Linked DNA regions of Homo sapiens: regions 1, 2, 3, 4, 5 and 7 are each linked to region 6. The links are contacts of gene promoters, found by promoter capture Hi-C in blood cells and fetal thymus (Javierre and others, 2016). All regions are on one chromosome and are shown on one strand. The core of a region is centred on a gene start or on the middle of the fragment in contact, and the rest is flanking DNA. Distances in the headings are between cores, read along the strand shown.

Region 1 (2,713 bases), core at 100-2,599, 8.2 Mb before region 6:
TTTGCTCACTAACATTAAAAGATTATATTAGCGCTTAGGATTTATAAACTTCTTAAACTATTCTTCATTACTTGAAATTAGAATATGAGGAAAACAACTAATGATATTTAATGGAATAAAATCTTCTATCTTGATAAATATTCAAATATATCAGTCTAACTTAGATTCTAAACTCCAAGAAGACATGAATGAACCCTGTTTGTTTTTGTTCATCTTAATACCCAGTGCCTAGTGCACTGTATTTTGTCAGAGTATTTTTTAAATGAAAGGGTATGTCATATACAGTAAAAGGGAAGGGCAATACTTTCCAGTTCTTTTGCACCTTCATATCTAGGGAAGAAAAATGACTAAAAAAAAGGTATTTGTATCAAGAGTCTTAAGTTATGTTTCCTAAGGTACAAGTTCAAGTGCAGAAGAGACAAAAAAGATGATAGGTAAGAATGAGTGTGTTCAGTACCTACAACTCAACCATTTCTGGTTAGTACACATCAAAGTTGCCCACATGAACAGTCCTTCACTATAAACATCCCACAGATCAGAGACAGAAACTAAACATGCAGGAGACTCAGATTTAAGATACATGTGTGAAGTGGACCAAGTATGAGAGTATTAACATCTATGTAACACAATGCTTTTTCAAAACCTAACAAAAGCCAATATCATTCTGAAGGTTACTTTTAGTCCCTGGAACGTCAGTTTAGTTTACTTAGATGGGAAAACTCTTTTTCATACCTGGAAGTCTATTTCACAAAATCGGAATAGTTTCCTTACCAGAAACACTCTTAAATAATCTAGTTTCATAACAATAAAGAATTTAGAACCACCACTTATTGAGAATTTACTGTTTATAAAGTATTTTGGTGACCATTAAAACAAGTCTTCAAGCTATTTCTTCTAAGGGATGCCTTATCACTTTAAAAAAAAATTAAAATCCATCTCCACACCCATCCCTAGCATTTTCTTTGCTGTTTTGAGATAGTACTTATCACTATCTAACAAATCACAACGTGAACTCCATTTTTAAAAACTGTCTGCCCACCCCCATGAGAATATAAACTCCATGAGGAAAATAATTTTCATCTGTTTTATTCACACCTTAGTTCCTAGAATCTCATCTCAGTGCCTGCCATATGGTAAATACTCAATAACGTTGTGTAAATGTAAGTGAATGGTTTCCCCCGTAGAACATTAAAAACTAAGGTGTAGAAATAGTAAAAGAAAACCCTGGGTAACACCAATTCCAAATGGCGCCGCTGGATTTAAACCAGGGTCTTTCACTTTTTAGAGAACCTGTACTGTTTCCACTATGCAACATGCTTCTCACAGGCAAAAATGGATCCCATATTTTAAATTAACCTTTAAGCAGACCAACATTAGCCTCCTAAGAGTTAGGAGACAACTCTATATGGCAGTCAACTCTTTCCAGAATTAAACCTGAAATTGCTAACATAGTGACCCAAGTAAGTGTGGAGCAAGTATGAGATGGAAAAACAAATGCCATTTTCAATGTAGTCGTTTTACCTATGAAATGACAACCATTTGACCCCTTCACAGAGGACCACTCCAGAAGTCATAAGAAGTTCTGCAAAGTACTGGGTTTCAATTCCTTCCTCCTCATGTTTTTTAAACTGGATACCAGATGTTGTTAGTAGCTCTATAGAGTCCTGGGCATACATGTCCTCCCTGGCAGAAGAAAGAGAAAGACAACATTCAAACATGCCATTACTTCAAACAAGCTGTTCTTCTGCTTACATCTATAACTACAGTGCCAGAAAAGAGACAGAGGAATGGCTTGAGTCCACCTGTTTCAATGCTTTATATATATGCAAGAAAAATGCAATTTAAATACAAAGGTCATTATTTCAGAAAAGTGTTTCGAATAAAAAATCATTCAGAGAGTCCAAAGGTGCAATTTTAATCTTTTTTCTATTAACTCTATTAGCCTTTCATACTTAAATACATTTAACTGGGTTTGGAAAAGGGTCTCCTATTCACCAGGGGCTACCGTCGCAAAGTGACAGACAAGTTTTTTCAGAGACTCTCAGTCTCAGCAGCCACTGTAATGCTCCCAGATGGAGCTGCAGCCATAGCTGTGGGGCATATGCCCATCTCCCGTGCTCTCAGCAGCACCAGTAAGGAGACCCAGTGGAAAATGTCTCATGCGGATGAGTTAAACTACACTTCATCTTAAAGAAGGAGATGCCTCCTTTCACAAATGAGCCTTGCAAATGCCTCCAATAAGCAACACTGTATAAAGGACTGTACTGTAATAGCAATAATTTCTTCTGCCAACAATCCTATTCCTAAAAGACTGCCTTATAAAATCAAGCCAGGAAATCTAAATATAAACCAATTCTTCAAGATTTCACTTAAGCCAAAAAGAAAGCCATCTCCAACCTCAAATATATTTCCAACCACAAATATGTGTATCTGAAATATTAAAAGTTTCCAAAATATATCTGTATCTGAAATATTAAAACAAAAAAGTTACCAAAATACAGATACATTTTTGAGAATACGTGAAAAAGTGTTTTTTTATTTACTTTTTAAATTGTAAGAATACTGGTTTCTACCTCTTGGCAAAAGGAATTCCTATTAAACACTTGACAAATCTAAACCATGGGGTTCACTTCACTTGGGCCAAAAAGTATCGTTATGGTTAGTCCTTTAGAAATCAATTTATTTCTAAATGTCTGAAAAATTACAAAACAAT
Region 2 (2,700 bases), core at 63-2,562, 7.5 Mb before region 6:
TCTTCCTTAGGTTCCAGCAGAAATGGAAGGGTTAGGACGATGTGGGTAAAGGAATTCTGTTGGGGAGGAGTGGGAACTTGTATAGATTTATTGTAATTTATATAAAGTATTCATTGTGATGGCAATTTCTTTCATAATATAAAATGACGGTATGAAAGTTGACTAATAACATGTAGCAGAGTAAATGTTAAAAATGTGCTTTAACAACTGTGTGGTATGGTAATTCCGCAGGATGTGGTACTTGCTTAGTTACAGTAAGCAACAGTCTAGTCTACAGAAAACTTAAAAGACTAAATATACTGCTGCTTGGAGGGGGATGTGGATTGATTTTTGTTTTTTTTTTTTTTTAAAAAAAAGGTGGACTGGTACTTTTTAAATTGTTTTACAAGGCTGGCTTATATGTTAAACAGGAGTTTGTGTTAAGAATTTAATATGCTACACTATTTAATAAAGGAGGAGGCATCTTTTAGTCTGAGAATTCGGCCGTGCATTGAGGACAAACTAGGGAATTCAGCTTCACAAGAACAGGTTTCAGACATTGACGTTACTACAAGTCCAAAAGGGAAAGGTGACAGACCTCAGAATGACAGGGAACTGAGGCCTAATAGGAAATATAGCCAAAAACGTGGATTTCCCTCAAAGGTATACTTTACAATATTAACTTGGGAAGTCTCTAAATGAGCACTTCTTCTGTTCATATTTCCTCTTCTTTATTTGCTTTTCTGTTGTTGCTATTACTCTTACATATTAATTGTTAATATAGTTGTCATACTGTAATTTGCTTTAGTAAAATTCTGTCCCTTACTGTTTTTTTTCTACTTTGTTATATACCTCTCCATGGATTATAGCTTACAGCTGTTTTTAATTTATATTAACAAAGGTTTTGAAATGTAATTTATTCCCTTTTTTATAAATTGCGAGTATAATTTATAACACGTTCTTAAACCTTGACCATCAGTCAGTTGCCCTTTGTTTCTGATATTTGTGTTTATTAATTTAGATGGGGCCAGGCGTGGTAATTCTAGCACTTTGGAAGACTGAGGTGGGCGGATCACCTGAGGTCAGGGGTTTGGGACCATCCTGGCCAACATGGCGAAACCCTGTCTCTACTAAAAATACAAAAATTAGCTGGGCACGGTGGCGCACGCCTGTAATCCCAGCTACTCAGGAGGCTGAGGCAGGAGAATCGCTTCAACCTAGGAGGTGTAGGTTGCCGTGAGCCACTGCACTCCAGCATGGGTGACAGAGTGAGACTGCGTCTCAAAAAAAAAATAATGAAATAAAAATAAATAAATTTAGATGGTAGTTTGTCAGATTTTTTGGTTTATATTTTTATTTTTGGAAACCCCTTTCATTTGCTTTTTTTAGAAAAATTATCCAGTTGACTTGGTTGCCTCTTTTTTTGCTGGTTTTTTCTGCAGTGTTTAATTGGTTTTTTAATTTTCCATGATTTGCATAATGGCATTCCAGATAGAGTTAAAGACAACTATTTGTAGTTCCACATAAAAAGAGTTTGAATAGGCCGGGCACGGTGGCTCACGCCTGTAATCCCAGCACTTTGGGAGGCCGAGGCAGGCGGATCACGAGGTCAGGAGATCGAGACCAGTCTGGCCAACATAGTGAAACCCTGTCTTTACTAAAAATACACGAAAAATTAGCCAGGTGTGGTAGTATGCACCTGTAATCTCAGCTACTCAGGAGGCTGAGGCAGGAGAATTGCTTGAACCCTGGAGGCGGAGGTTGCAGCGAGCCGAGATCCTGCCACTGTACTCCAGCTTGGGTGACAGAACGAGACTCTGTCTCAAAAAAAAAAAAAAAAGAGTTTGAATAAAAATACCATTTATAAAAGTGCATGTATCTGTTGGCAGGAGCAAAGTACTATTTTAGTAATTGAGTATAGGTAAGACTAATTTCATATGTTTTATTACTGGTTTATTACCTAGGACTACACTTTCCCATTTTGTGGCTATTTTATGGGTTTGTTGTATTTTTTTTTTTTTTTTGGTGTGTGTGGCTATTTACAAATGGTAAAACTTCACCTCTAGTATTTTGGCAGTTTTTTTATTTTTTCTGGTTCCTACAAGAATTTGAGAGCACAGTTTGAAATTAGTTATGGGAATCTTATTATATCAAATATCAAGTAAAATGTGCCCCAGTTCACCAGTAGAGTGAATAAAGTAGCTGATTATTTTAAAAACTAGTGGCATTGGAGAAGAGCAAATAAACATGAAGCATAATAGGTAACCATTGGAATTTTATTCTCTTTAATCCTTCTGAATAGTGACAAGCGAAATTTAAGAGTTAACAGTTAATGCAGTATCTGCCAGTTCTTTTTTTCTTAAGGCATTACATATAATTTAAAAACCACTTTGCTGTTTTTAGGTTTCTTTGAATAATATCCTTATAAGTGATTATTATTCTTTTTTGAATTCTCTTCTTGGCATTTATTTCATTTTGACTTTCTTGATTCTTAAGGCTGTCTCGTTGTTCTGTTAGTATTCTATTTGTAAAAACATTTTAATTTCTTCAGGGGAAAAAATCTTAATTCTCACCACCTGTGTTTATTTTTTTCTCTACTCTGCAGGAACTGTCATTCTTACCACCCCACCCCTGTTTCCTCCTTAGAATCTTTTCAAAATGTAGTATTCTGTTAGAATAGTGGAAAACACAGTTGAGGGTCTTACATGCGATTCAAGGTTG
Region 3 (2,700 bases), core at 63-2,562, 7.5 Mb before region 6:
TACCGCAGAGGACTTCTCCTCTTTTACAAGCAGCCTCCTGCTGTTCCCTTCTGGGGAATGGAGCAGGGGTCGCTTCCCTTCCCACGAGACCTTTGTTCAGGGACTCAAGTGGGAGGTTGAGCAATAAGCAAGCTTTCTTGCTTAGAGGCTCCGCACACTTCCTGCGGTTGTTTGTTCCACTCTGTGGTCAGTCAAGCAAGCTCACCGCCTGATTCTTATATTGTTGGACTAAGCACAAGCTATTCTTATGATTCATGACTATATTAATAAAGCACTATTCTAAAGCATATATTGTTAATCCTTAAACAGGCACACTGTACGCTGGCCCTCGACTACCTCGGCCCACATCCAAGCCCCTGTTTTGACCCACAAACCTCTCCTCTATACCAGTGTGTTTCACCCGCTATCAGAGTTTTACTTGTTTCCTTATCTAGATTGGGGAGAGTCTTGGATAGACCGGCCTGCCATCCAACGTCCTTGGTTTTTAGCCCTGGAAATTATTTAGTTCTTCTGGTAAGGAGAGGGCATTTTCTCTTACCTGGTTAATCTGAATTCACGTGTGTTTTGCTAGTTCTCCCCTGACTTTGGGATCTTTCTCATGGAAGGAGAAATGCAATGTGGAAGCCTTTTTACGGTAAAATAAAAAATTATAAGGCCAAGGTGGGTGGATCACAAGGTCAGGAGATCGAGACCACCCTGGCTAACACGTTGAAACTCCATCTCTGCTAAAAATACAAAAAATTAGCCAAGCGTGGTGGCGGGTGCCTGTAGTCCCAGCTACTTGGGAGGCTGAGGCAGGAGAATGGCTTGAACCCGGGAGGCGCAGGTTGTAGTGAGCTGAAATCGTGCCACTGCACTCCAGCGTGGGCGACAGAGCGAGACTCTGTCTCAAAAAAAAAAAAAATTATAATATATACAGCTGTAGCTTTCCTACATAATGCCGTGAATTTAACATGAATCATTGTAACCCCAATCATGCCACATACTCCTCTGCTAGTCCGTATGGATGCATATTACAAATCTAGTTGTCACCTGCAGATCTCTTTATTTCTGTGAATAAAAACTTATTTGACCCAGAAACCAACTTTTATAAAATCACTCCAGATTATTCCTTATAACCATGATAATTTTGAGTCCTTATTTCATATCATTTTGTTTTGATTAACAGCTTTTTTAAAGTGAAAGCTGAGGTTTAATTTTCATGCCTTTCTAACATTTTTCCTATGAATTAGGAAACAAAATCTGTATCAGCCCATATTTCCATATTTTTGGAACTCCCTCACCTAATTATCCAATTTTTCTACTTAATTACCAACATATATCTAGTTACATAGTTCTGGTTTAACTGTTTTGGTATAGTGCTGGTGGGAAACAAGGAAAAAGATGTGGATTATTTTCCTTGTAGTTTTAAAAAATGGTTACTCATATCTCTCCGTTTAAACCTCTCCAACTTGGTGTGTCTTGGGAAGGAAGCAATTTACTCAAGATTTTACTACATGATTGCAGCTTTGACCACATTTTCAGTGAATAGAGAAGATGACGTAAAAACATACATACAAGAAAAATACAGGAAGAATCATGTAGTAATCACAACTCTGTAGAAGTAAAGCCATGTGAAAACTGATGAAATGCAACTATAGATGAAATTGTCAGAATCACGAAGGTTACATCCATTAAATGAGTGATTTTTGAAAGAAAAGAACATAAATTGGTTATGAAGGAAGAGGCAGTTCAGACCGTTACAAACGTTAATATTGTATGTCGACGGCAGTAATTAGGTATTTTCAAATCTAATAATAAAGAATCAAAACTAGGCAGTAATGAGAGATGTTCTGATAATTAGATCTGGGGAAAACAGAGCAAAGTAAAAAGAGCCTTGAAACATTACTTACGCATGTGGATTTGATAGAATTCGTTGACATAATTATATAATGGCTGGTTGATTAGATTATATACATCAACTTTTAAGTTTTTGAGCAAAAGAGTTATGGGAGAAAAATCTCCCTCCCCAAACTCCCGAGGATGCTTGGCAATCAATGTCAGGAGACATTTTTGGTTTTTACAATGGACAGGGGTTTGCTCTAGGTATACAGTGGGTAGAGGCCAGGGATGTTGCGGAACCTCCCGGAACGCACAGAACCGCCCCACAACAAGAATCACCCAGCCCAAACTGTCAATAGTATCAAGGTTAAGAAACTCTGGGCTAGATTAAAAGGTAGAGAAGTTAACCGTGCTACAATTTAACCAAAAGGTGTAAGAACTAGGTCAGAGGCCTCCAATTAGTCCTTTGTTTGGCATGACCAGTCTCTTCTTCCATTAAGTTACCCAGAAAGCCAAGTTATATTTTTCAGGAATATTCAAAAATTAATTTTACGTTCTGCTCTTAATAAATTTGGGGTTTATACCCATTAAAATGGATGAGTCGCAGAAACACAATGTTGAATGAAAAAAGCAAGTAAAGCAAAAATACATTCAGTATGATATCATTTATATAAAGCTTGAAAACAAGCAAAATAAAACATATTATTTAGGGATATCCATAGTTACATGAATAAAATGAAGGAATTCAATAACATTGAATTCCGGATAGTATTTATGTCTGCAAAGAGGAAAGAGTTTGAAGAAAATGTGGCAGGGAGCAGTCCTTAAACATCTTAAGTTCTTTTTTTTTTTTTTGTTTTTTTGACAGAGTCTTGCTCT
Region 4 (2,700 bases), core at 35-2,534, 8.1 Mb after region 6:
TGCACTCCACCCTGGGCAACAAGAGTGAAACTCTGTCTCGAAAATAAATAAATAATAAAAAATAAAAATAAAAAACTGTGAGGCTCAAGTCGGTGGCAAAGGGCAGGAGTACTCACTTATACAAGTCGGGTTTGAGAAGCCCTAGTATCACCGAAAGTCTCCCTTTCTCATCTTCATTTTCTCCATGTAGGAATCCTGCCACAGAACCGCATTCAGTAACTTGAAGCAGTGAGGTGAGCACCTCCCTAGCAACTTCCCGAGATCTCGGAGTGGTCCATGGTTGCTCCAAGCTGTGTGTGATGGCAAAAATATAAACGGGTCCTGCCAAGTGATGCAGGCCCGTCTGCCATGCAGGGCCGACCAGGGAATTCTTAGCAGTCTCAACTTTCCCTAACAGTTTAAGAAACAGTAACCCAACTTGGGCTGCTTTCTCGGCCGCTTCGGAGTGCCCATCACCTCCACCTTCCTCCTCCTTGGAGGGGGCTGCATACTTCTCCAGGGCTTTTGCTACCTGCCCCAGTGTCTCCGGCATTCCGCGGAGCCGTGCACCAGTCCCCTCAAATAACCTATCAAATTCTGTGGCTTCTATTAGATCACCGAGGTCTTTAAGAACTGCATCTTTTACATTGCCTCGTCGTGCCTCCGGGCGGGCAAGACAGTGTAAAATCTTGGAGAAGGCCTGTCCAAAGGCGGAGTGAGACAACTCCTCGGACAAATTAGAGTCTTCCTGCGATGGGGCTTCCAGAGCGCTGTCAAGCTCCATTCCTGACTGCAGCACCAGAAGGCTGGTCTCTCCCACAGAACGAGGATGGAGGCGGGGAGGGATCCGTTGAAGAGGGAAGGAGCGATCACCCAAAGAGAACTAAAATCAAATAAAATAAAACAGAGAGATGTCTTGGAGGAGGGGGCGAGTCTGACCGGGATAAGAATAAAGAGAAAGGGTGAACCCGGGAGGCGGAGTTTGCAGTGAGCCGAGATCGCGCCACTGCACTCCAGCCTGGGCGACAGAGTGAGACTCCGTCTCAGTAAAAAAAAAAAAAAAAAAAAGAATAAAGAGGAAAGGACGCAAGAAAGGGAAAGGGGACTCTCAGGGAGTAAAAGAGTCTTACACTTTTAACAGTGACGTTAAAAGACTACTGTTGCCTTTCTGAAGACTAAAAAGAAAAAAAACTTAAAAATTTAAAGAAATAAACTTCTGAGCCATGTCACCAACTTAACCACCCCCAGGTACCTGCAACGGCTCGCGCCCGCCGGTGTCTAACAGGATCCGGACCTAGCTCATATTGCTGCCGCAAAACGCAAGGCTAGCTTCCGCCAGTACTGCCGCAACACCTTCTTATTTCACGACGTATGGTCGTAAAGCAATAAAGATCCAGGCTCGGGAAAATGACGGAGAGGTGGAACTATAGAGAATAAATTTGCATATATAATAATCCGCTCGCTAATTGTGTTTCTGTTTTCCTTTGCTAAGGTAGAAACAAAAGAATAATCACAGAATCTCAGTGGGACTTTGAAAATATCCAGGATTTTATACGTGAAGAATGGATGTATCGCATTACGGTAGTCACCCTATGTGTAAATTAGTGGCACATACTTGGCACTCCTTAATGTCAACTATAAGATGATCCTTTTGTAGTTCATGAGCGTGATGATTGGGTGTTCATACGCTTGTGTGAGATGTGCCACCCTTGAACCTTGTTACGACGTGGGCACATTACCCGTCTGACCTGAACTTCAAGGATCGATTTAACACTTGTATTTGTGGGCTTGTTACTTATGATAACAGGTGGCCTAGTTTCATGGCTTTGTGTTTACCGTTTTCGGGTGCCCTTTTTTCTGGCTGTATGCTACACGCACGGGTGCTTTTCCGTTGTCCAACTGTGTAATGTGTTTTTGTGTTTGTTCTTTTGTGAGTCGGAGTCTCGCGTTGTCGCCAGGCTGGAGTTGCAGTGTTGCGATCTCGGCTCACTGCAACCCCCACCTCCGGTTTTCGAGAGATTGTCCTACCTCAGCCTCCCGAGTAGCTGGGACTATAGGCGCGCGCCACCACGCCCAGCTAATTTTTGTATAAATATTGGCAAGGATGGTCTCGATCTCTTGACCTCGTGATGCGCCCGCCTCGGCCTCCCAAAGGGCTGGGATTACAGGCGTGAGCCACCGCGCCTGGCCAATGCAGAGCTTTTTAATGGCTTTAATTTTTTAGGTTTGGGAGATACCTGCGCAGGTTTGTTACCTGGATATGTTGTGGGATGCTGGGATTTGGAGTGCAGCTTAGCCCGTTTTCATTGCCCCCTCTAGTAGACCACAGTGTCTGTTGTTGCCACTTTTATGTCCACGTGTTCCTAATGTTTAGCTCCCACTTATGAATGAGAGCATGCGGTATTTGGTTTTCTGTTCAATGCAATACTTTAGCTGGTTTCTGGAGCTAGCGTTTTAAAGCCTGTAGCCACAAGCGTTTGAAAATTCAAATTCTAGCGTCAAGGTAGAAGCCCCCAGCTGGCGTCTGGGGCAGCCCTGAGGGAGGTGGGTCGTCGGGTTGGCGGATCCGGCTTGGGCCCGCCCCGCCAGTGTCGGCGCCGGGTGCGCAGGGACAGCAGAGCGCTGTCTTGGGCATGGGTCGCAGGCGGCGCCCGGAACGGGCCAGGGGAGCTGGAGGCTGCAGACTCGGGCTCGGCGGGTGTAGGAACCAGTGGTGTTTGC
Region 5 (2,700 bases), core at 120-2,619, 7.4 Mb before region 6:
TCATTATTTTCTCAGCTTCTTCGAAAACATCCTCGCCTGTAGTTGTTTTATACAGATGATTCAGAGGCTAACTCTTCAGTCACTTCAAACTTGGCAATGATCATCTAATAAATATCAACAACTGATCAGTTATCGGTATGTTGACAGTCAAGAAAAATCACTCAAAAATCACATGCTTTGTTCTTTAATTGATATTGATGTTCTTCCCAAAGTCCAGGACAAGGGTTCTCAATGACATGTAAAATAATTTCATTTTCCCTGGACACAATACTTCTGCTACTACAATCGAATACAATTTAGGTAATCCACCATTGGTAAATGGCTTTCCTTATTTTGCTAATAAATGAGCTACTTAGAGACTTATAGGGGTTGCAACTTAATTTTACTTTGTAAAATTTGTAAATAAGTTCTGCTGTGAGGAGATACTCCGCTTTACATTTTCTTGTTTATCTGACCATTGTTTTCCTATGAGTTGGGAATACTGTGATGGGTACTTAACCCAAGTGCTTAATTTTATGATCATGTTGTGGACTTAAGACCCTGCTCCATTAGTGACTTGTAGAAAGTTACACAGCTGGTGACAGAATCAGAGTCAATGGCTTTCCCTGTTCTATCAAACAGCTTCCCACAGAGATAATAAAACCAATGCCTCAATTTAATTCCTAACAGAATAATCTGCGCGTAGTTCAGGGCTTCTGGTGATCACTAGAATCAACTCGGCAAATTAAGTGAAACGTAATGACTCCTATCCCTTCCTAATAATGACATTTGCACGCCCTGGGTTCCAAAGCCAAAATAAACATCAAATTACAGGCACATTTCTTACTAGACAACTGTGAGCAAAGTTGAAAATGCTCTGTCTAGTATTAGGAGAGAATGTGACCTGCCCCAGAGGTAAGAACTAAAGAGCAAGCTAGCAACAATACATGTGGAGTGAGTCTGAGGTTGATAACGACTCTTGGTAGCAATAAACAAACGTGAAATTGGCATAGAACCTGGCTGCAAGGAAATAGGATAAGTGTGACAGAAAATAAGAAAGTTGGCAGCTATGAGACTACAGTATTTCAGGGGCTCACATGGCATGAACGCCTAAGTCGTTTATGCAAAAAGGTTAGTTTTAGGGGTAGGGTGGAAAAAAGAGCTACTTCCTCCCCCTCAAAAAAGAATTCTACAGGGAGACACAGCTTCAAAACCCACGAGTAGCCCTAAAACAGAATTATAATGAACTTACTTAATGTTATTTAAAGTTCCTTACTATCCCCAAGTTTATAAACAGTTTAATAACAGACAACTCTATTAAGGCAGGTAAAAACTTAAATAGATGATAGGTAAAGATTAGAAACAGATGATAAGAAGAGAGATTATGTGGTCTGGATGGTATACTATGTACACCCTATCACAGGAAACAAAATCCAACTTAGAATCAATTCTCTCTAACCCTCTCCCCACAGTACCTCTCTTTCTCTCTCTCTCCCTGCCCTTCCCTACCTTTCTCCCTGCCCCTCAGTGGTCTCCTAAGAGTGAAGATAAGTGGTAAAAATCTGATATTTCAATGCATTTGAAACTCTCTGGGCCAGGCATGGTGGCTCATGCCTGTAATTCCAGCACCTTGGGAGGCTGAGGTGGGTGGATCACCTGAGGTCAGGACTTCAAGACCAGCCTGGCCAACATGGCGAAATCCCCGTTACTACTAACAATGCAAAAATTAGCTGGGTGGCATGTGCCTGTAATCCTAGGTACTCGGAAGGCTGAGGTAGGAGAATTGCCTGAAGCCGGGAGGTGGAAGTTGCAGTGAGACGAGATAGTGTGACTGCACTCCAGCCTGGGAGACAGAGCAAGACTCCATCTCAGAAAAAAAAAAAAAACAAAAAACTCTCTGGAAAGTGCTTTTAAAAGACTGTTTGGGTCAGAAAATTCTCTAATTTTTCTGGTTATTTGATAGAAACTTAAGCCTCTTTGAATGTCCTCCCCATTCATTAAGAGAAATTAATTACAGAGCTACTGAACACAACATTCTAAAAAAAACACAAAAATATAAAGAGAACATTAAGGTCTCAATGAAAGCGCCATACCCTTAAAAAATGGCATAACTTGTACAGCTCCTTAAAATATTTGAGCCCGAAAGAATTAGGAGACCCTCAATGAAATAATGTATGCTTCTAATAGTGAATTTTAAAAGTCCAGAAAGCCCTTGTGTGCTTGTCTTATTGAAATACTCAGAAAGAGACAATGAAGGATAATCTAAAATTACATACCTCATGTCAGTTTTCATACCCACCAGAAGCCAAACAACTCTAGCCAGACAATTTTTCATTCATTCAATTCTTGAATTCATCAACAACTATTTTGCAGACAAGTTTTTCCTATAATGTCCTCTTATGTACAACTCAGCAGAAACACTGAATACAAAGAGGCATGTTTCCTACGTGTACAAGAATTCACATGAGCTTGAAAATGTTTTCACTTGTCTTCTGGGCTTTGATGGGATGGCATCCTATTAAGCTACTGATATTTAGGTCAAAGGAATGTGAATAAACCCTCCATGAGAGGAAGGACCTCATCTATCTCATTGGCTGACGCATTCCCAGCGTTTAGGAGTCTGGCACATAGTAGGCAAGCAGTATTTGTTGAATAAGTGAATGGATTACACCTGTGTGTTCCCTCTTTGGGAGAAGTAGGGAAAAGCAGATGAAGTGCAAT
Region 6 (2,727 bases), core at 95-2,594:
AAATCTCTAAGACCAAAAGAACATAAAATTATAGCCAACAAACCACACTCTGGTTCGAATTTTCGGAGCATGTTTACTCTACACTGAATAATCGGAAAGCCATTTTTAATGCCACTGGACAATTTCACTATTTAAAAATTTACAGTGTTCCCCGAATGTGCAGGCAGCAGAGTATTTTGGCAACCAACACAGCGAGACCCATTTACCTTTACCTTAGACTCGTAAAGGCTGAGTTACTTCTAGGTATCATTTAGCAACGCAATAAATGTCTGCCTCGAACAGTGAAAATTTCCCAAAGGAGCAGAACAACTTTCATGGGTGGGGCAAAAGGCTGGGAAGGAAGAGAATTCGTTTTGGCTTGCTCCAGCGCTGGAAGAACACTGAGCACCACACTCTCCGCAAAGGCCTAACACAGCAAAGGCGACTGTCAAATCGATCCCTTTTGGGTCTGCTGTACCCGTCCTCTAGGGAATCAAAATAAGGCAAAATAATAAAAAGAGTACAGAGAAGTTTGGCGGCGGCGGGGCGTGGGGGCTTGAGGCATCTCAGAGAGGAGGGCAAAAATCAACAAGAAAATGCCCCCATTTTAAAAATCCTGTCTGCGACCTCGGATGGGAGATTTTGTTTATCCACGGGCAGTTTACTTCTGTCTCCCTGACCCATCTCCACAGGCTCTGGTGCTCGCCGCCACTTTCCGAGCAGATCATTACTCAGCACCGGAGCCGGCGCGCCTCCTCCCGCAGGCGGGAGCGGGGTCTCGGGGAGAGGCGGGAAGAGGCGCGACCGCCCGGGCGCCCAGGTGACCGCGGCCCTCCCCGCGCCCCCGTCCCCGCGCCCCCCGCACCAAGCATCCGGGAGACCCGGAGCCCCCGGGCCGAACCGCGCCGGCCCCCAGGCAGCTGAGGCACTGAAGGGCAGGCTCGGGCACGGGGGTCCTGAGGGTCGGGAGGAGGCCGCGGGGACCCTGTGCTGTCCCCGAGCGCCCCCAGCCCGCGCACGCCCACCTCCCAGCCCCTCTACCCAACTTCACCGCTGCCCCGCCAGCCGGTTCCGCACCGTCCGCCCTCGCCCCGACCCCCGGCCCGCCGCGCCCCCTCACGCCCCCGTTACCTTTCCGTTCTTGGGGCTGCCGTTCAGGAACAGGGTCACCCGCCTCATCGCGCTGCCCCCGCTGGGTCCTGAGTGAGCCGCCACCCTCCCACCTGGTCCTCCTCCCACCTTTTTCTCCTCCCGCCCTTCCCCTCCCTCCACCCACTCGGATTCGCCTCCCTTCGCCACCTTCCTGCCCTTGGGGACACACCACACGCACGCACTCTGTCCCACACCCAAGGTTCGGCCGGTCCTCCTTCCCACCCCGCCCCTAGGCTCCTCAGCCTGCCTGGGGCCCTTCCCCCACCTCTCCGAGACTGACACTCTGCCGTACCAACCAACCCGCGTCACCGGACAGAGTCCAGCCAATCAGCACCCAGTATCGGGCGGGCTCTGGCTAACCTAGCCGGGACGGAGGGAGGGAAGAGACGCTGAAGGCTAGTAGACGGGAAGGGGCATCAGCCAATCAGAGAGGCTCCTGGAGCCGGACGGCGGCTTCCAGCGTTACTGAGCAGGCGCACCCTCTAGTTTAGGTAGCGCTTATCTGCATACGAGGGCGGGGTCTGGGGAAAGGAGGTGGAGCGCTGAAAGGGACCCAAGCACCAGTCAGCCCCTCCTCCAGCGTTAGCCCCGCCCACAAGCCGGCCCAGCTAGGAAACGGCTGCGGTAGGGACGGACTGATTGGGTAAGAGCCAGCTCGTCGCTCTGTTAGGATTGGTTGAATGAGTCTTTTCGAAGTTTGCAGCATCCAATAGAAAGGTGGGAGGCGGAGTTAAAGCGCTAAGAGAAGCGTTACTCCGCGAGACTCTCCTGAAAAGTAGTCCCCGAGGTCACAAGGCAGTGGCAGGTGTCTGTAGTCCTCGGGTTGACTGCAGCTCGCGGTGGTCCCTCTCCGAGCCCAGGAAGCCACTCCAGTGCCGAGGGAGAGGCCTGGGAGCGCTCGGAGTGTGCGCGGACTGGAGAAGGGGGAGGTGGCGGAGTGATTCGTAGAGTAAATTCGGTACCGAGGGGCGGGGTCGGGGATTTGAATCGGTCGGCGGGCGGAGGAGGCGGGTGGAGGAGGCTGCCGGGCAGAGCGCAGGCCAGGATCAGCGCAGGCTGTGAGTCCAGGTCAGCCGTCGGGACCTCGGGCTCCGGGTTCGAAGAGCGGCTCCCGGCTGCGGGTGCTTTGCCAGGAGAGCCCTTCCGGACAGAGGAGCCGGGGTCTGGAAGGAGCGGCCGACGCGACGCTCGCCTGCCACGGGGCTCTGGGAGTAAGCCTGTCTGCCTGGCGGGCCTTCAGGTGCGGCGTGAGAGGTAGGATTGCATCCGCGCTGCCACGGGGCTGTTTCTCCGGGGCATTTCTAGGCACTTTGTTCGGCTTACCCTGCAGCACAGAATTAGTACTCCTGTCAGGAGCTGCTCTGGGTGACCAGGAGTGCATCCGGACCTGTTGAGAGAATTTCTGGAAATGGATAGAGCTGCGTCTTGAGAGGGGTACCCTTATGATTCAGGTTTTCGCTACGGTTGAAAAGCCATGGCTTATCCTTTGGGGTCTGCTTTGGTGCCTGAACAGCAGTTTTCTCCATTTCTTTCTGTTTAATTTGGCTTTAAAAGTACGCGCTTAGAGTAAAAGAATGGTTAGCACAGGGTGGGAAG
Region 7 (2,700 bases), core at 170-2,669, 8.3 Mb before region 6:
TTCCTGTTACTTCTCATTTTTGTTTCTATAAAACAGTGAAGGGATTATTACATAGGGGACTTTTTTGTTTTTTACATTTACACATGTAAGCCTTAGGTTGAAGAAATCGATGTATACTGTTCTATGATCCAACTGGCACCTTACTCTTCTTTTCTCCCCCAAATCAATAGGTCTTTTATTGCATCATTTAAATATCACAAATAGGTCTTAGGAATCATCCGGCATCTTGTTTCTGTACCTGGACTACTCTTAGGTCTTATTCAGCAGCCTGCTTAACTGTTCCTTTTTCAGAGACGTAAATACCATCCACACATTTTCTGATATCCTTGTTTTTATTTAATTGTCGTGGCTGGCTGAATCAAAGCAGCTGAATTTGCAACAAGATCAATGTCATTTCCTACAAGGGTTAATTCATCTTTCTGGGCTTGAGATACTGAACAAGCAACACCTGGCCACTGCCAAACCCTGTGGATTTATTTTTCACCGAGGAAATTTCAGAACTCAACCAGAGACCTATTCTTCCGGATAACGACATTGATGGAGAAGTGAGTACACACAGAGCTCATCTTGCAGCGGAAGCCCAGCACAACATCCTTGACCATGTCCTGTGCATGACTACAAATAGTGCAAACGGCAGCCAGTTCCTTTCTGTTTCCCCACCATTTTTTGTCAGTGCCGGAGCCTCATTTTTTTTCTTTCCAAGGAGACTGAGGTCTACATTGATGTGATTGAAGTCCATCCACAGGGTTCCTCTAGGGCCTTTCGCAATTACTGGGTATCCCTTCAAAGTGATATCTACATTTTCTGGAATATGGACAGTCTGGTTGCAGAGAATGGTTTTCATTCTCACAGTAGACACAGCGAAAAGGTGGTTCTTTACTCTTTGGATTCCTCTTCAAAGGAAGAAATTTCCTAGTACCAAAACGTAAAATTGTTTTCAACTTCCTGTTACCTCTAATTTTTGTTTCTATAAAACAGTGAAGGGATTATTACATAGGGGACTTTTTTGTTTCTTACATTTACAAGAATAAAGCCTTTTGAATATTCAGACAAGACAAAATGTCTAAACAGTTCTGTCCAACAGAACTTTCTTCAATGATGGAATGTTCTAGATCTGCAGCATCCAATGCAGTAGCCACTAGCCACATGTGGCTATTGAGCATTTGAAATGTGACTATTGCAACTAAGAATTTCCAATTTCATTTCATGTTAATTTTAACAAATTTGAATAGTGGCAACAAATGTTACTAGTGGGTACTTATTGAACAATGCAGGTCAAGAGAGTGTGATTTGAATGGCACCAAGTAAGCTTCTTCACCCCCAAATTCCTGTATCCCTATTTCTCAAGGTGCCTTGGTCTCCATGAGCTGAAACTAACTCTTTAAGCAATGAGATGCAGAATGAAATTAAAACTACGTGCCATTCAGAGTTCTTGGTTGTAAACACAAGTCAACTCTAGTTGACTTACATAAAAAATGTTATGCAGTTATATAGGCACTCCTCCAAAATCAAAAGGAAGCCTGGAGAATCAAGCTTGAGCTGGAACAAAGGAAGCTGGTGCATGGCCAAGATCTTGCCACCAAGAACAGTCAACCTAGGATGCCATTGCTGCTCTTAATATCCCTGGACACTTGCCACTACACTGCAGAATTCTGCTGCCCTTGGTCACTCTCTGCTGGCTGTTCAGCTCTCAACTCCACAACGGCCACTTCTAATAATCTCCAGTTGAACTTCGGACATTGTATCACCCCTTAGAGATCCATAGTATAGCTGTGTCAGTCCACTGGAAGGACATGTCTGCTCACCTTTTGGGTTCATAGACAGTGCCCCTCCCCATTTAGGGGCAAAGAAGGGAAACAGTGTAAGCAAAAATATTATTTCAATGAAAATTTCCTATTTTATTTCCAAAGAGATTGACCTTAGTGCGAATTCTAAAGAAGTGCACGCAGAATCAGAACGATTTACTATATAGAAAAATGCTTTAAGTCTTTTAAATTTTTTGAATAGGGTTGTCGTTTTTATTAATCGTTAGCCATTAAATTATAATATAAAAACTGTATAATTATAACATAACTTTTTGTTTTGAGAAGGAGTTTTGCTCTTGTTGCCCAGGCTGGAGTGCATTGGCGTGATCTTGGCTCACTGCAGCCTCCACCTCCCAGGTTCAAGCAGTTCTCCTGCCTCAGCCTTCCAAGTAGCTGAGATTACAGGCACCCGCCACCACGCCCAGCTAATTTTTTGTATTTTTAGTAGAGATGGGGTTTCGCCATGTTGGCCAGGCAGCTCTCAAACTCCTGACCTCAGGTGATCTGCCCGCCTTGGCCTCCCAAAGTGCTGGGATTACAGGCGTAAGCCACCGCGCCTGGCCAATTATAACATAATTATAATTAGTTACAATGATATATAATTGTTCATGAAGTTATAATTCATATTTATAATTGCCTTGCTTAAGCTAACAGTTGATAACTATTGAAATCTATGGAGAAAAGGTGAAGACTGCTGCACTGCTTGGTGTGTGCCTGCCATCTAGTGGCAGGACACATTAATGCTACCGTGAAAGCCCTAGTGTGCCTGAAAGGCAGGTTTGCCAGGGACAGTTTGCTCCACTTTACATTGTCCCAGTGTTTCGACCCAATCAACTGTATACAGAGACATCCTTAGGCTTTTGAAATTATCTCCCATTTTATTCAATATAATTAC

The links. Contacts are between HindIII fragments. The CHiCAGO score rates a contact against its expected background, and 5 or more counts as called.
Region 1: a contact is called between a fragment that was not itself captured here and the fragment with the promoter of KCTD9 in region 6, in 2 of 17 cell types (activated CD4 T cells and total CD4 T cells). The highest score is 8.9, in activated CD4 T cells.
Region 2: a contact is called between a fragment that was not itself captured here and the fragment with the promoter of KCTD9 in region 6, in 1 of 17 cell types (total CD4 T cells). The highest score is 8.8, in total CD4 T cells.
Region 3: a contact is called between a fragment that was not itself captured here and the fragment with the promoter of KCTD9 in region 6, in 2 of 17 cell types (fetal thymus and total CD4 T cells). The highest score is 5.4, in fetal thymus.
Region 4: a contact is called between the fragment with the promoter of TTI2 here and the fragment with the promoter of KCTD9 in region 6, in 3 of 17 cell types (naive CD8 T cells, fetal thymus and neutrophils). The highest score is 8.5, in naive CD8 T cells.
Region 5: a contact is called between a fragment that was not itself captured here and the fragment with the promoter of KCTD9 in region 6, in 1 of 17 cell types (activated CD4 T cells). The highest score is 8.7, in activated CD4 T cells.
Region 7: a fragment that was not itself captured here is called in contact with the fragment with the promoter of KCTD9 in region 6 in 1 of 17 cell types (non-activated CD4 T cells); the score reaches 5.4 in non-activated CD4 T cells.

The regions. Positions count from the first base shown.
Region 1 is chr8:17,235,691-17,238,403 of GRCh38, forward strand. CNOT7 (CCR4-NOT transcription complex subunit 7) reads right to left here. Exons shown (of 7, transcript NM_013354.7): 4 at 1,522-1,683. Among named protein-coding and RNA genes, the nearest start is that of CNOT7, 9.8 kb to the right of the region's middle. The HindIII fragment of the contact is 6,429 bases long and covers 1-2,713 here.
Region 2 is chr8:17,941,194-17,943,893 of GRCh38, forward strand. All of the region lies in intron 6 of PCM1 (pericentriolar material 1), which reads left to right. Among named protein-coding and RNA genes, the nearest start is that of PCM1, 20 kb to the left of the region's middle. The HindIII fragment of the contact is 3,210 bases long and covers 1-2,700 here.
Region 3 is chr8:17,916,254-17,918,953 of GRCh38, forward strand. No RefSeq gene overlaps it. Among named protein-coding and RNA genes, the nearest start is that of PCM1, 5.4 kb to the right of the region's middle. The HindIII fragment of the contact is 2,365 bases long and covers 131-2,495 here.
Region 4 is chr8:33,511,851-33,514,550 of GRCh38, forward strand. It overlaps TTI2 (TELO2 interacting protein 2), which reads right to left and starts at 1,285. Exons shown (of 8, transcript NM_001102401.4): 1 at 1,232-1,285; 2 at 117-862. The coding sequence starts at 763. SNORD13 (small nucleolar RNA, C/D box 13) reads left to right here and starts at 1,625; the gene lies at 1,625-1,728. RefSeq lists an enhancer at 1,317-1,456 and a silencer at 1,887-1,936. The HindIII fragment of the contact is 19,476 bases long and covers 1-2,700 here.
Region 5 is chr8:18,077,424-18,080,123 of GRCh38, forward strand. The region is part of intron 1 of ASAH1 (N-acylsphingosine amidohydrolase 1); the gene reads right to left. Among named protein-coding and RNA genes, the nearest start is that of ASAH1, 5.3 kb to the right of the region's middle. The HindIII fragment of the contact is 4,673 bases long and covers 1-2,700 here.
Region 6 is chr8:25,457,089-25,459,815 of GRCh38, forward strand. KCTD9 (potassium channel tetramerization domain containing 9) reads right to left here and starts at 1,345. Exons shown (of 12, transcript NM_017634.4): 1 at 1,111-1,345. The coding sequence starts at 1,158. It overlaps CDCA2 (cell division cycle associated 2), which reads left to right and starts at 2,145. Exons shown (of 15, transcript NM_152562.4): 1 at 2,145-2,385. RefSeq lists enhancers at 394-443, 1,814-2,043 and silencers at 1,054-1,103, 1,464-1,673. The HindIII fragment of the contact is 4,823 bases long and covers 1-2,727 here.
Region 7 is chr8:17,150,045-17,152,744 of GRCh38, forward strand. It overlaps the pseudogene RPL9P20. Among named protein-coding and RNA genes, the nearest start is that of ZDHHC2, 5.1 kb to the right of the region's middle. The HindIII fragment of the contact is 224 bases long and covers 1,308-1,531 here.